2 separate regions of the Homo sapiens genome follow, and region 1 is linked to region 2. Evidence: promoter capture Hi-C in human tissues and cell types (Jung and others, 2019). All regions are on one chromosome and are shown on one strand. The core of a region is centred on a gene start or on the middle of the fragment in contact, and the rest is flanking DNA. Distances in the headings are between cores, read along the strand shown.

Region 1 (5,602 bases), core at 369-2,868, 68 kb after region 2:
TGGCAGAAACACTTTGAAAAAAAGGTAGATGCTGGAAGAATATACAAAATGTCATATTAATTTAAAAGGTAACCGGATGTGGGAAGGGTGGGAGCCAGGGCCCGCACGCTTGATATCCGGGCTTGGGCAAGATCATCCCCACAGAGTCACAGGAGGAGGGCGGAGCGGTTTCCCCACATACCACACGCCTGCAGGGCTGGACGCCGCACCCTTCCCATCCAGGTGAGGCTGCCCAGGGTTTCTCGCCTGCTAGCTGGTCCGGCCCATGGCGGGCACTCGGGGGATACCTGTTGACCATCTGATGAGACCTGGGCCCCTCGCCTGTTGGCGACAAGCCTCAAGCTGGTTCCCGTGCGGTCCCTGCATATTTTCGGTACTGCTGAATCTTGGATGGAGACCTGAAGAGGAAGGGATCTTGAATTTGTCAAGCGCCCACTGTGTGCCAGGCGCCCATTTTAAGCACCCGATGTATGTTTTCTGATTTTACGTTTGGATGGCAAGATTGCAAAACGTTTGTGTCCTATAAATGAATTTCTGACAATTGCAGAAGTTATAGGTGACAAATGACTCCTTCCACCCCCAAATTTCCTCTAAAGGCCACATTAAATAGGGTGATCCAGGGCTTCTCAAGTGGTGTAGCCCAACAGGTTGGTCCCAGGTGTGTGGAGACGCTGGTCCCCTGGGCCCTCTTGGTCAGGGAGGCAGCAGAGGGTGGGGAAGTGGCATGTGCCACAGGGCTCGGAGGAAGCCAACATGTTTTTCACAGTGCCTGTTGCGGCCATGGTGATCGGTGTTCTGTTAGACGAGACACTGGCCTCACCATTACATGGTCAGTGTGCAGTGATGACGGAGTGTCCAGGAGGAGCTTGGTTTAGGCAGATAAGTCAGCCCCGTTCAGTATGTTGTTATTTTTATTTATTTATTTATTTTTTGAGATGGAGTCAGGCTCTGTCGCCCAGGTTGGAGTGCAGTGGCATGATCTCAGCTCACTGCAACCTCCGGCTCCCGGGTTCAAGCGATTGTCCTGCCTCAGCCTCCCAAGTAGCTGGGATTACAGGCATGCGCCACCACGCCCGGCTAATTTTTTTTTGTAGTTTTAGTAGAGATGAGGTTTCACCGTGTTGGCCAGGCTGGTCTCCCTGACCTCAATTGATCCACTTGCCTCGGGTTCCTAAAGTCCTGGGATTACAGGCGTGAGCCACCGTGGCGGGCAGTATGTTGTTTAAAAAGGCCCTTCTATTACTTCTGGAAAAACAAAGGGTTAAGTAATTACCCGCCATGAACAAGCGAGGCGATCATGTGGCATGGCTTCTCCGGTTTGGGAGTTTTGATTCTTATTTTCACTGTAGCTTTTTGCAAGTGATCTCTCTCTCGGGGTGTGCTCTGACATGACTTGCACAATTCCAGAACCTCTCTAGCCCTGAACAGAAGCAGAGTAGAGCTGTCTACTTGTCTTTCATGAGCAACTGGGCTCGTTGAAAAAGGGAGGAAAACAGGATCGATCAGCCACCTTCCTCCCAGTTTTTTTACTGGTCAGTGGCCGACTTGCCAGCTGCTCAGGATGGTGTGGCCTCTTGCTTTGTGTTGATTTGGGGTCTTAGAGGTTCATAGGTGATGGCCACAGTGGTCGCTTTTGTAGCCCCGGATGTTACTTTGTATTTAGATTGTACCCCTTTTATTGGAAGGTCAAGGAATGTTCTGACAACTCCAGAATGCTCATTCCAGGCACCAGAGAGCGGGGGCCTGGAAGGTGGTAACAGGGAGGCAGGAAGACAGGGAATGGGCTCACAGCCTTGTCGAGGGATGTGGCTCACAGCTTTGACCCTCAGCGTCCTCGTCTGTGAAATGAGGGTGGCATCGCAGAGACGGAGGAGGGCCCTGGACGGTGAGTGCAGGCAGAGGTGCCTCCTGTGCTCTGTGCCAGGATGAGGATTTATGATTGCTAACAGCACTAGGAGTCATCGGAGTTCCGCATGTTTCAACCTTCGGGTGAGTGTCGCCCCTTGCTGTGTTTGGTAGGCACATTCCAACAGAACGAGTCCTGGTCCAGAAATGCAGTGCGGTGTTTTCTGGGCATTCTTCCCATTTGTTAGTGGAAGCATTCCTTGGCGTATGTTGATAGTGGTTAAAAGACTGCATTCTAGTGCAGTGGACATGATTCATTATTTGGGACTGGTGAGACAGACCTGCCCGATGCCAAGGAGGCTGCCTACGTAAAGACCCCACCCGGCGTTTCCTTATCATCAGTATGTTCCTTCTTGTGCCTGCCGGATCGCCTGTTCTTAGCCTGCCTGCCACCGTCTAACCTCGTCTCCGGGGGCCTGCAGTTGGCCCTGAATCCTCCCGCGTTGTGATGGGATACCCACTGTGCTCCAGGAGCAGTGCCTGGTGTAGCGTGAGGCTTCCGGTTCTACCTCCTGCCCTGCCACTTCCTGAAGCCCCGCATCAGGTCCAGGGGAGGCTGGGCCACTCTGACTCGGGCTGTGGAGCTGCTGGACATTTAAAGGCTTGGTGTTGAGAAGTGTTGCTGTTGGCATCATGGCAGACAGTGCTGGAATACATTCCGAGGGAGGCGACGCGGTGCCCGATGGGGTGCACACGGCCGCCACGTCCTGAATGGCACAAATCCTGGGCTGAGCTCAGGGCCAGCTTGGCACGCGAGGCCTCCCTGGCCGGCAGTGGAGGGCCAGAGTTTTCTCCCACGAAGGAAGCTAGGACGGCTGTCCTCAGAGAGCTTGGGTGCCTGTGGGAGGGCTCAATGATGTTGAGTGGATGGTGGCCACGGGTCAGGGCTGTCACCGGCCCAGGATTTCCCGAGCTGGCACTGGGTCCAGTGTGCCTCCAGCAGTGACCGTGCATGGAGGAGAAGCCGAAGCTCGGGGCAGGGAGAGAGCGCCCTATGCACAGGAGAGGGGCAGCAGGTGGGCCCGGCGCCCCGTTACTGCTGCAGCGTCTGGCTCTGTGCGAAGCTGGTAATCCAGGCACATGGGCACGAGTGTTGCTGGTAGATTGTTGGAAGTGGACATGCGTGTTTGCCTCCAGGTAGGGTATTTGAATGAGTGCTTTTATGTAGGTTAAGAGATCACACACATGTGCTCTCTCAGACACACACACACACCCTCGGGCACACTAGCACATGCTCACACATGACACTCAGTCTCTCTCATGTTCACCCAGCTGCTTCCACACTCACTGTCACACACTCTAACCTTTACACACAGGCACGCACACACACGACGGTGAGGCCTGGCATTGCCTACAGGCATGCACACACACAACGGTGAGGCACGCACACGCACGACGGTGAGGCACGCACACGCACGACGGTGAGGCACGCACACGAGGCACACACACGCACGACGGTGAGGCCTGGCATTGCCTACAGGCATGCACACGCACGACGGTGAGGCACGCACACACGACGGTGAGGCACGCACACACGACGGTGAGGCACGCACACGCACGACGGTGAGGCATGCACACGCACGACGGTGAGGCCTGGCGTTGCCCACAGTGCATGCCCCGTCCTGAGGGTCCCGAGCACTACTCCTGTGCCCTTGGTCCTCTCAGGGACGGGATTCCCTTCGTACCTGTCTAGAAAATGCCCCCCGAAACATCTGTGTTGGGAGGGAGAGCGAGCCTTGTGCAGGATGCTTGCTTGGGAGAGAAGCGCAAGAGTATTTGAAAATAGGAACCTTTTAACTCCACCCCACTGACGTTTTCTTTTTCATAATTTTCCTTGCAAAGCACCTTTTTGTGAGGACTTGGGCCCGTCAGGAATTGGAGCTCCATGCACTGCGGGTCCACAGTGCTGTCTGTAGGGTTTTGGAAACTGCAACTTTAAGTGAAAGGACGTAAAATGAAACTCATGTTTCCTTTCCACATCAGCTTTAAAACAAAAAGACTTTATCAAGGATTTCTGTTTGTCATTTCGCATCAAGTTACAGTTTCCAAGAAGCTATAGATGATGTTAACTGAGGACCTACCGTGGCACTTATTAGCTAAGTAAATGATGGCATTGAAGTGTCAGGAGAAAAATGGCCCTCTGCGTATTTAAAACCATGGTGCGCCTGATGTGTGAGGCAAACGTATCCAGCCGAGGTGGATATCATTGCAAATAAGTAGCTGCAAAGTACATTGGGCCTTGAAGGTGAGAAGAAGCTTATCTCTGCAGAAGTAAAAGAGTATTTTCCATTTGTGTCCTAGTGAGCTGTCTTTCAGAGAGTGGCATGGAAAGGAATTTTCCTGCTAGATTCCAAGACTGGATCGACATGTTCTTACAAAGGGAACCTCCTTGGGTTTAAAAAAATGTTGATTATTTCTGGCACCCTTCTGTCCCTGAGACCCAAGTCAGTGGTGGGAGTTGCCCCCATATCACTCTTTTTTATTTTTATTTTGAGACAGGATGTGAGTCAGTCACCTAGGATGGAGTGCAGTGGCATGATCATGGCTCACTGCAGCCTCGACCTCCCCGGCGTCAGGGATCTTCCCGCCTCAGCCTCTTGAGTAGCTGGGACCACAGGCATGCGCTGCCACGCTCGGCTAATTTGTATTTTTTAATCTTTATATAGAGATGGGATCTTGTTATTTTTGCCCAGGCTGGTCTTGAACTCCTGGGCTCAGGTGATCCTTCCGCCTCAGCCTCCCAAAGAGCTGGCATTACAGACGCCGCCCACATCCCTCTTTAAAGCATGATTTTGCATTTGGATTTAGTTTTGGAAGATTTCTTATTTAGTTAACGTAGTTTCCCTTAAGGGATTTAAGAACTAGTTTGAGATAACTGCCCTTCTCAAAGAAAACAAATATGGCTCTGCTTATCAAAAGTGGAGATATGTTCAGTTTAAGAAGGAGAGAAAGCTTAAAATTGTTTATAAATCCTGAAGCTCCTTGTTGAGAACTTTCCAGAAAGGAATCTTACATGCAAGGAGCATTTGTAGATCATTTTCTTTGCCACATACATGTGGTGTAATAAACATATACCTACACACGCTTAAAAGGGAATGTCTTTTTGTTCACTGCGTGTTGTCTTACTGGCAGGCTGCATAACCCTTCTCCTGTGCTGTCAGCTTAATTTAGCCTGATGACAAATCTGAAGCCTGTGGTCTTCCCTTTCTGTGGCTTCCACTGTTGCAGATAAAACAGGTGGTACCTGTGCGTGATTTACCCAGCCTCACAGCACAATATAACAGATGCATATTTAATGCAGCAAAGTGATTTTGGAAAACAACAAAACTCAGAGTAAACGTAAAACAAGAAATTGAAAGCAGTATTATATGTTTGCATGAATAGCTTGGAAAAAGGATTTTAAGTGTAAAGCTGAGAAAGTATTTGTGTTTAGGATGGAGCCACTGGCCCCCCCCCACCCCCCAGCCCCCATGTGAATCAGTGAGTTTTGCCTTCTGAGTTACGTTACCCAGATAAAGATGCAGCAGCAGAGTCTCGACCTGCGCCTTCATTCTGACCGTCGGGGTTGACTGTGTGGCCCAGTGAGGATGAGCCACACACACATTCCCGGGAGGAAGCCTGGGCTGTGGATGGCAGGCTAAAGTTACAAAGCACATTGAGGGCGTCCTGATGCTCTGGACTTGGGTGGACTCCTTAG
Region 2 (5,915 bases), core at 30-2,529:
GTAGCGGTATGTATGATGTTGTTCGTCACAGAAAGCATGGAAAATACAGAAAGACACAGAGAAGAGAGTAAATTCACCCATGGGTCTACTGCCGGGTTAACAGGCACTACCAAGATTTCAGGTGGTGGGGGCGCACGCGCATGCGCACCAACACACGGGCCCTAGAAAAATAAACTCGGGATCCTAAGCGTGTACGCTGCGGTGCCCACACACGCGTCTGCCGTTCTCACCCCGTTTTCTGCTTTAATTTTCTGCTTAAATTGGTCATTTTCTGTGAAATGCACATTCCACTTCTGGGTAGTGTGCACCGCCCATCTCCCCCACGGAGTGCAGGAAGGTGGCAGCGGGGCTGTGTTCCAGGCCAAGGCCACACAGCCCGGGGGGCCGCACGCGGGGGCAGCCTTGGTACACGAGGCCTTTCATTTGTTGGTTTTACAGCTGGAAGAATTCGGATATACTTATTGACCGAGAGAAGAGTCCAAAACTCAGGAGTGGAAAATAACGAAGAATGAAGAAAGGAAACAGGAAGAGGTTGACCTGATTGATGGAAAGGAGCTCCTCTTTCTCCAAAACCAGAAGGAAAAGGAAGATTTAGAGAGCAGAGGAGGGTAAGTTTCCCCCGGATAATATGGGTTCAGTTGCATAATACGGCCAGGATGTTATCTGCAAAGAAGCTGTGGGGAGGAGAAGGCAGAGCAAGGAGCGCAGGGCTGAGACTGTGGGAGATGCAGCCGGAAATGACAAAACAGAAACAAAACGTGACCAAGGCCATTTGGGGTCCAGCTGAAGTTCAGCGGCTTAGATGCGTAGTAAGTCCCATGAGCACTGTTGCACGACTTGCCCACAGCTGTTCACATATGGACTTTGCAGCTCACATTGACTCTGGCCAGGGCGGGAGAGCCGGGGAGCCAGGCAGGTGCGTGGGAAGGGAGAGAAGAAAGGGAAGACGCGGTGCCCATTCCATATTTACCTTAGTAGTCATCCAGACGCACTTCCCTCTCCAATCCCCAAACAAGAAGAGGCAGAAACTGTCTACCAGTTAGACGGGAGGTGTCAGCGCCCCTGGAGGCTGTGGCCATTGCCAGGGAGACCCCACTCTGCACAGCTCACAAACACACCGTGTGTGTGCAGGGTCCTCACCCGCCCTGGGCAGGAAATGGGGGAGTTCTACGTCCACTTTGTCACGCAGACAATGGAGGGGACCGCAGAAGGGGCTTCCCCAAGGACACAGAGCCAGTGGCCGCCTCACTGTGTGCCCCTCAGTGGGCGTTTCCACACTGCCTGGCAACTTTGAGAACAGCCGCTTTCGCTGGGTCTCCAGTGAAACTTGAAACCATTTGCATCTGCAAGTACTTTACTTATTCCATTTCAAAGGCATGCACATTTTTAAAGGGACACTGTTTTTAGCTCCTGCGTCACTGACTCATCCCGCATAATTTGACTTTATGGGACAGGGTCCCCTAAGGAGTGTCCTTGCCTTGACAGTCCTGTCTTGAAAGCTGTGAAGACCAAGTGGTGCCATATATATTGTTTTAAAATTATGGACTACCTAGAAAAGAGGTGAAATAGTAAAAAAAAGCAAAACTTTTAATATTCAATGACAAACACAGACAGAAAATAGGGAAAAATTAAATGTTAATGTGTTGGGATGATTGGATTTTGAATAAATTTTATTTATTGAATTGATATGAAGTTTATGGAACAGGGATAAACAGTTTGTTTCATATGATTATATATTTAGGTATTCGTTGACATACATATATACGTATACATATACACGTATGTATTGCCGTGTGTACATATAGACACATAGCATGTATGTATAAAACATATACATATGTGCCAAATTACAAAACGAGAAGTCGTGTTGCTCATCCTGCTCTATTATAAGAAACCTCAAGCAACAGTAGGTACTGGAAAATGCCAAGTCTGCATGATCCCGGCAAGGGCAGATCCTGCCACTGGAGTTCTGGAATGCATCTCTCCCCACTTGGCAAAGATGCAGGGTGCAGAGGGGGTGTCAGCAGAGGGGCTGGGTGCAGAGGGGTTGCAGACTTACCACAGGAGGACTTTATCAAGAGATGTGGGTTTTCTGGGCATCCAGGACACCCACAATGGGGTGACAGAATTGTCTGTGGAGTGGAGTCCTAGTATTGAACTTGGCAGCTGCTACCGGATGCTCTTCTGGCACCTATGTTTTCAGAAAAACAGGAGCTGGCCAAGAGTATTTGCCAGATTTCTCCCTGGATTGGACTGATTTCTGCACTCAGCCCAGGTTTGTTTTTTTTTTTTTTTGGTGTGTGCCCCCGCGCCCGGCTAATTTTTGTATTTTTAGTAGAGACGGGGTTTCACCTTGTCAGCCAGGCTGGTCTCGAACTCCTGACCTCAGGTGATCCGCCTGCCTTGGTCTCCCAAAGTGCTGGGATTACAGGCGTGAGCCATGGCACCCGGCCTCAAACCAGCCTCAATCTGAAGGACGTGCATACTCTCCACAGGTCCCACAGGTCTTTCTAGGGTCCTTGCCCCTTACGTGCACTTCCTCTCTGAAGAGGTCCTTCCTCCACCATGTTGTCCCAGCCTGAAATTGTCCCTCATTATGGAGACTTGAGTGGTGTCTCCCACTGACTCCTCTCTCAAGGGGTGAGGGTTTGCTTGACCAGACACCAGCAGTGGGGCACACCCCTTCCAGTTCACCCTGATGAGCTCCTTATGCCACCACAGGGTCAAAATCAGGTTTAATAGCAGCAGCATTCGCAGTAGCCACAAAATGGAAACAACTCAAGCACCCCTCCAAGAGGGGGAATGGATAAGTAAAGTGTGCTGTATCCCCACGATGGAATATTATTCACTCATGAGAAGGAGTGAAACACTGGCACATGCCACAACGTGGATGAACCTTAAAAGCCTTATGCTGAGTGGAGGACGTCAGGCACAAAATACCACAGATTGTTATGAGCCCAGTTGTATGAAATGTCCAGAAGAGGCAAATCCATAGAGACAGAAAGCAGATCCGAGGTCGCCAGGGTCTGAAGGAGTCGGGGATGGGGAATGATTGCTAATGGGTCCAAGGGGGCTTTCCTTTCTGCATGAGGACAGTGTTTTGAAACTGGAGGTGATGGTGGCATAACACCGTGACTACACTAAATGCCACTGAGTTGTACACTTTTGATTTTAGGCTATGTGAGTTTTACTTCAGTTAAAAAAATAGATTGAAGGCTCAGAGAGATTTAGGGGTGGGAGGGTAAGGATTTAGGATTCAAAAGAACTTGACTAAGGAGCTGAGAATCTTAAATATATTTCCAGTGTCATTGGGTTACTGGCTGACCTCTGTGTGCTACCTTGGTACCCTACCCCAATCGACGCTTTGTTCTATGAGAAAAAGCATTCTGAGCTTCAAGTAACTGAAGTAACTGATTTATAAACAAACCGTTGGAATATAATCTTTTTCTTTTTAATTGTTGGGGACTATCTGTAATTTAGTCTCTAAAATATAGTTAATCTTTGGCTCTTGCTCTGAATTAATCAATAAAAAAGACATCATAGTGGTAATCTTTGGGGGAAGTGAAATTCAATTTAATCCATTTTTTCTATTTGTTAGCTCCTCCGGTAATTGGTTTGATGGGGAAGAAGTTTGAAGTTATTGGTTAAATAGAGGTTTTTGGATTATCTGTGAATTTCAATTATCCATGCTTCACCTGGCCCCAATTAGCACTAATAATCGAGTTAACTGAATAGAAGTCATTTCCCATCATATCAGTTTTGCTATAGGCTTATTAGTTGTTTCACTAATGGGCCCCCCAAAAGACAAAGCCTCTTTCTCCATCAGGCACTCACACCCCCATACCACAATTTGTCAAACTAGTGCTGTATTGTTAACGGTATGAAACAAATGCTCTTAATAACAAAACATGTAGCTGAGGAGTGAAACCAGAAATGTCTAAAGTGCATTTATAGTCAGAAGGTATTACAAGACATTTCTAAAGTCTTGTTAGAAATTTTAATCAACGTTTTCAAGTGATTTGTATTTTCAATTTCAATTGAGGTTGTCACTGTCTTAATTTATCCTGATTTAAATTAAGACAGCTTTTAAAAGTGCCTGTTAATTTTAGCAATCTACCCATTTTCAGATGTGTTATTTATGTTTACCAATCACAATCTACATGCCTTTTAAGGTTTCAGTTTCTCTTCTTGGACACATTTGTATTTATATTAAACATAATAAATATCTCCCATTCCAAGAGCCCAGTTTTGACCTTCTTTGATCTCTGAGTCCCAGCATCCCTTAACTTGACATATAAATTAGCCCAGCCCCTCCCGGGAGGCTGGGACCTGAGGGTAGTGTTTCCTCCACTCCCTCGCCCCCTTTTGAATCTCCAGCATCATGTTTTTCCATTGCCATGGAGATGCAGCTATGTACACAGAGTGCAACAAACCCAGCGAATGGGAAAAGTCCCGGCTGAGATAGAATTACTAACTAAACAAATGCTATTGGTAACAGGGTGCCAGGGAGGGATACCCAAGTTCTCCTTTTCTCCCCACAATCAGATTACAGGTAAAAGTGCAAACAGCGAGATGAAAGCTGACACAGTGGTTCTTTTAAAGACACAGCGGACATATTACTCTCAGGAAAACACGGCGTTGGGTGCAGAACAGATCGTCACGAGAGCTGTGCAGATGTGGGAGGTTTAGTGCGCCTTTTGTAAAAATATTGCTGTCCTAAACCCCAGATCACGGTCTTATGGCTAAATAAAGAAAATAGAGCAAACAACTGAGAGCCCAACAGCAGCAAGGACTCGGTGAAAAGCCCCGGCGTCCCCTCTGATAGCACTCTCCATATTGTCCTGTGTGGGGCGAATAATAATTGGTCCCTCACTGGCACTGGCACACAGCTACTCGCTGGGGCAGTTTCACTCAAGAATTAATAAATTAATTAATACATCGTTCTTTTTATGGTTTCTAAAATAAGAAAATTGCCTATCCAACCCTCTGAGTACCCGATAAATAGGCTTCTACGTTTTGCTTTTGTAGGTATCATTTATGTCTTTTATTTTTCTTTTTAATGATATATTTGTTCTTGGTTAAAGAACCACAGATAAATTAGAAAACACAACTATTTGATGAAGAAGTAAATGGAAATTTTCATTTAAAGAAAGTCAGTGATTTTTTTTCTTAGATAGGCAATTTACAAACATTTTCTAAATGCAAAAATCATATGGAAACATATAAAGCATTCATTATTTTGTGACTTTGGTAAATATAAACTGGTCATGGTCCAATGTGTGAACTATGACGTTAATTGTGAAATTGTATCTATCTTCCTTGCCTACTTTTTGTGACATACCTCAGTCACTTTTCTTGCAAAACATAATTGAATTCAGCCGTGTGTGTGTGGATTTCTCTGCTTCTGTCAACTTTTCAATTCTACTTGATTTAAGGTTTGAAAACCCCAAAGCTGTCTCGAACAACCTCCCAGCAAGAGCATGCTGGTGGAATAGTTTCAGGTGCCTTTTATCAGGCTTTTCAGTTAGTTTAAAAAATAATATTAATTTGCCAGTTAGTCTCGACAATCTCTGAATGTTTTTGATAGTTATTCAATAGAGTTATAAGTAGTGGAGTTTTTTTGTTTAAATAGCATTTTTTCTCATTCCTGAAGATTGTTTTCTACCCCCATTTTCCACTTAACTTTAAATGAAAAGTTTAAAGTGTTTTTAACTTCTCTTAGAAGTTGTTTCCAGGTAACAAAAATCAGTTAAGAAAATGCTAAAGTCAACTTAATTTTCCTTTTCTAATTTTAACATATTTAGTTCATTCTTTAGAGCAAATGTTTCCTTCTCAGTATGAAGACTTTGTGGGTTTGTCCTGATCAAGATCCTCAACCCAGATTTCAAACCTGGGTATTGTCGGAAAGAAATGGC

What was found. Contacts are between HindIII fragments. The study calls those that stand out against the background at their distance.
Region 1: a fragment that was not itself captured here is called in contact with the fragment with the promoter of LINC00908 in region 2 in 5 of the 25 tissues and cell types used here (dorsolateral prefrontal cortex, mesenchymal stem cells, mesendoderm cells and 2 more).

The regions. Positions count from the first base shown.
Region 1 is chr18:76,456,512-76,462,113 of GRCh38, reverse strand. All of the region lies in intron 2 of ZNF516 (zinc finger protein 516), which reads left to right. Among named protein-coding and RNA genes, the nearest start is that of ZNF516-AS1, 32 kb to the left of the region's middle. RefSeq lists enhancers at 1,414-2,011, 2,012-2,609, 4,022-4,521, 4,522-5,023. The HindIII fragment of the contact is 5,783 bases long and covers 1-4,509 here.
Region 2 is chr18:76,524,019-76,529,933 of GRCh38, reverse strand. It overlaps LINC00908 (long intergenic non-protein coding RNA 908), which reads right to left and starts at 1,279. Exons shown (of 3, transcript NR_015417.1): 1 at 971-1,279. RefSeq lists enhancers at 1-257, 681-760, 258-896, 897-1,537. The HindIII fragment of the contact is 15,253 bases long and covers 1-5,915 here.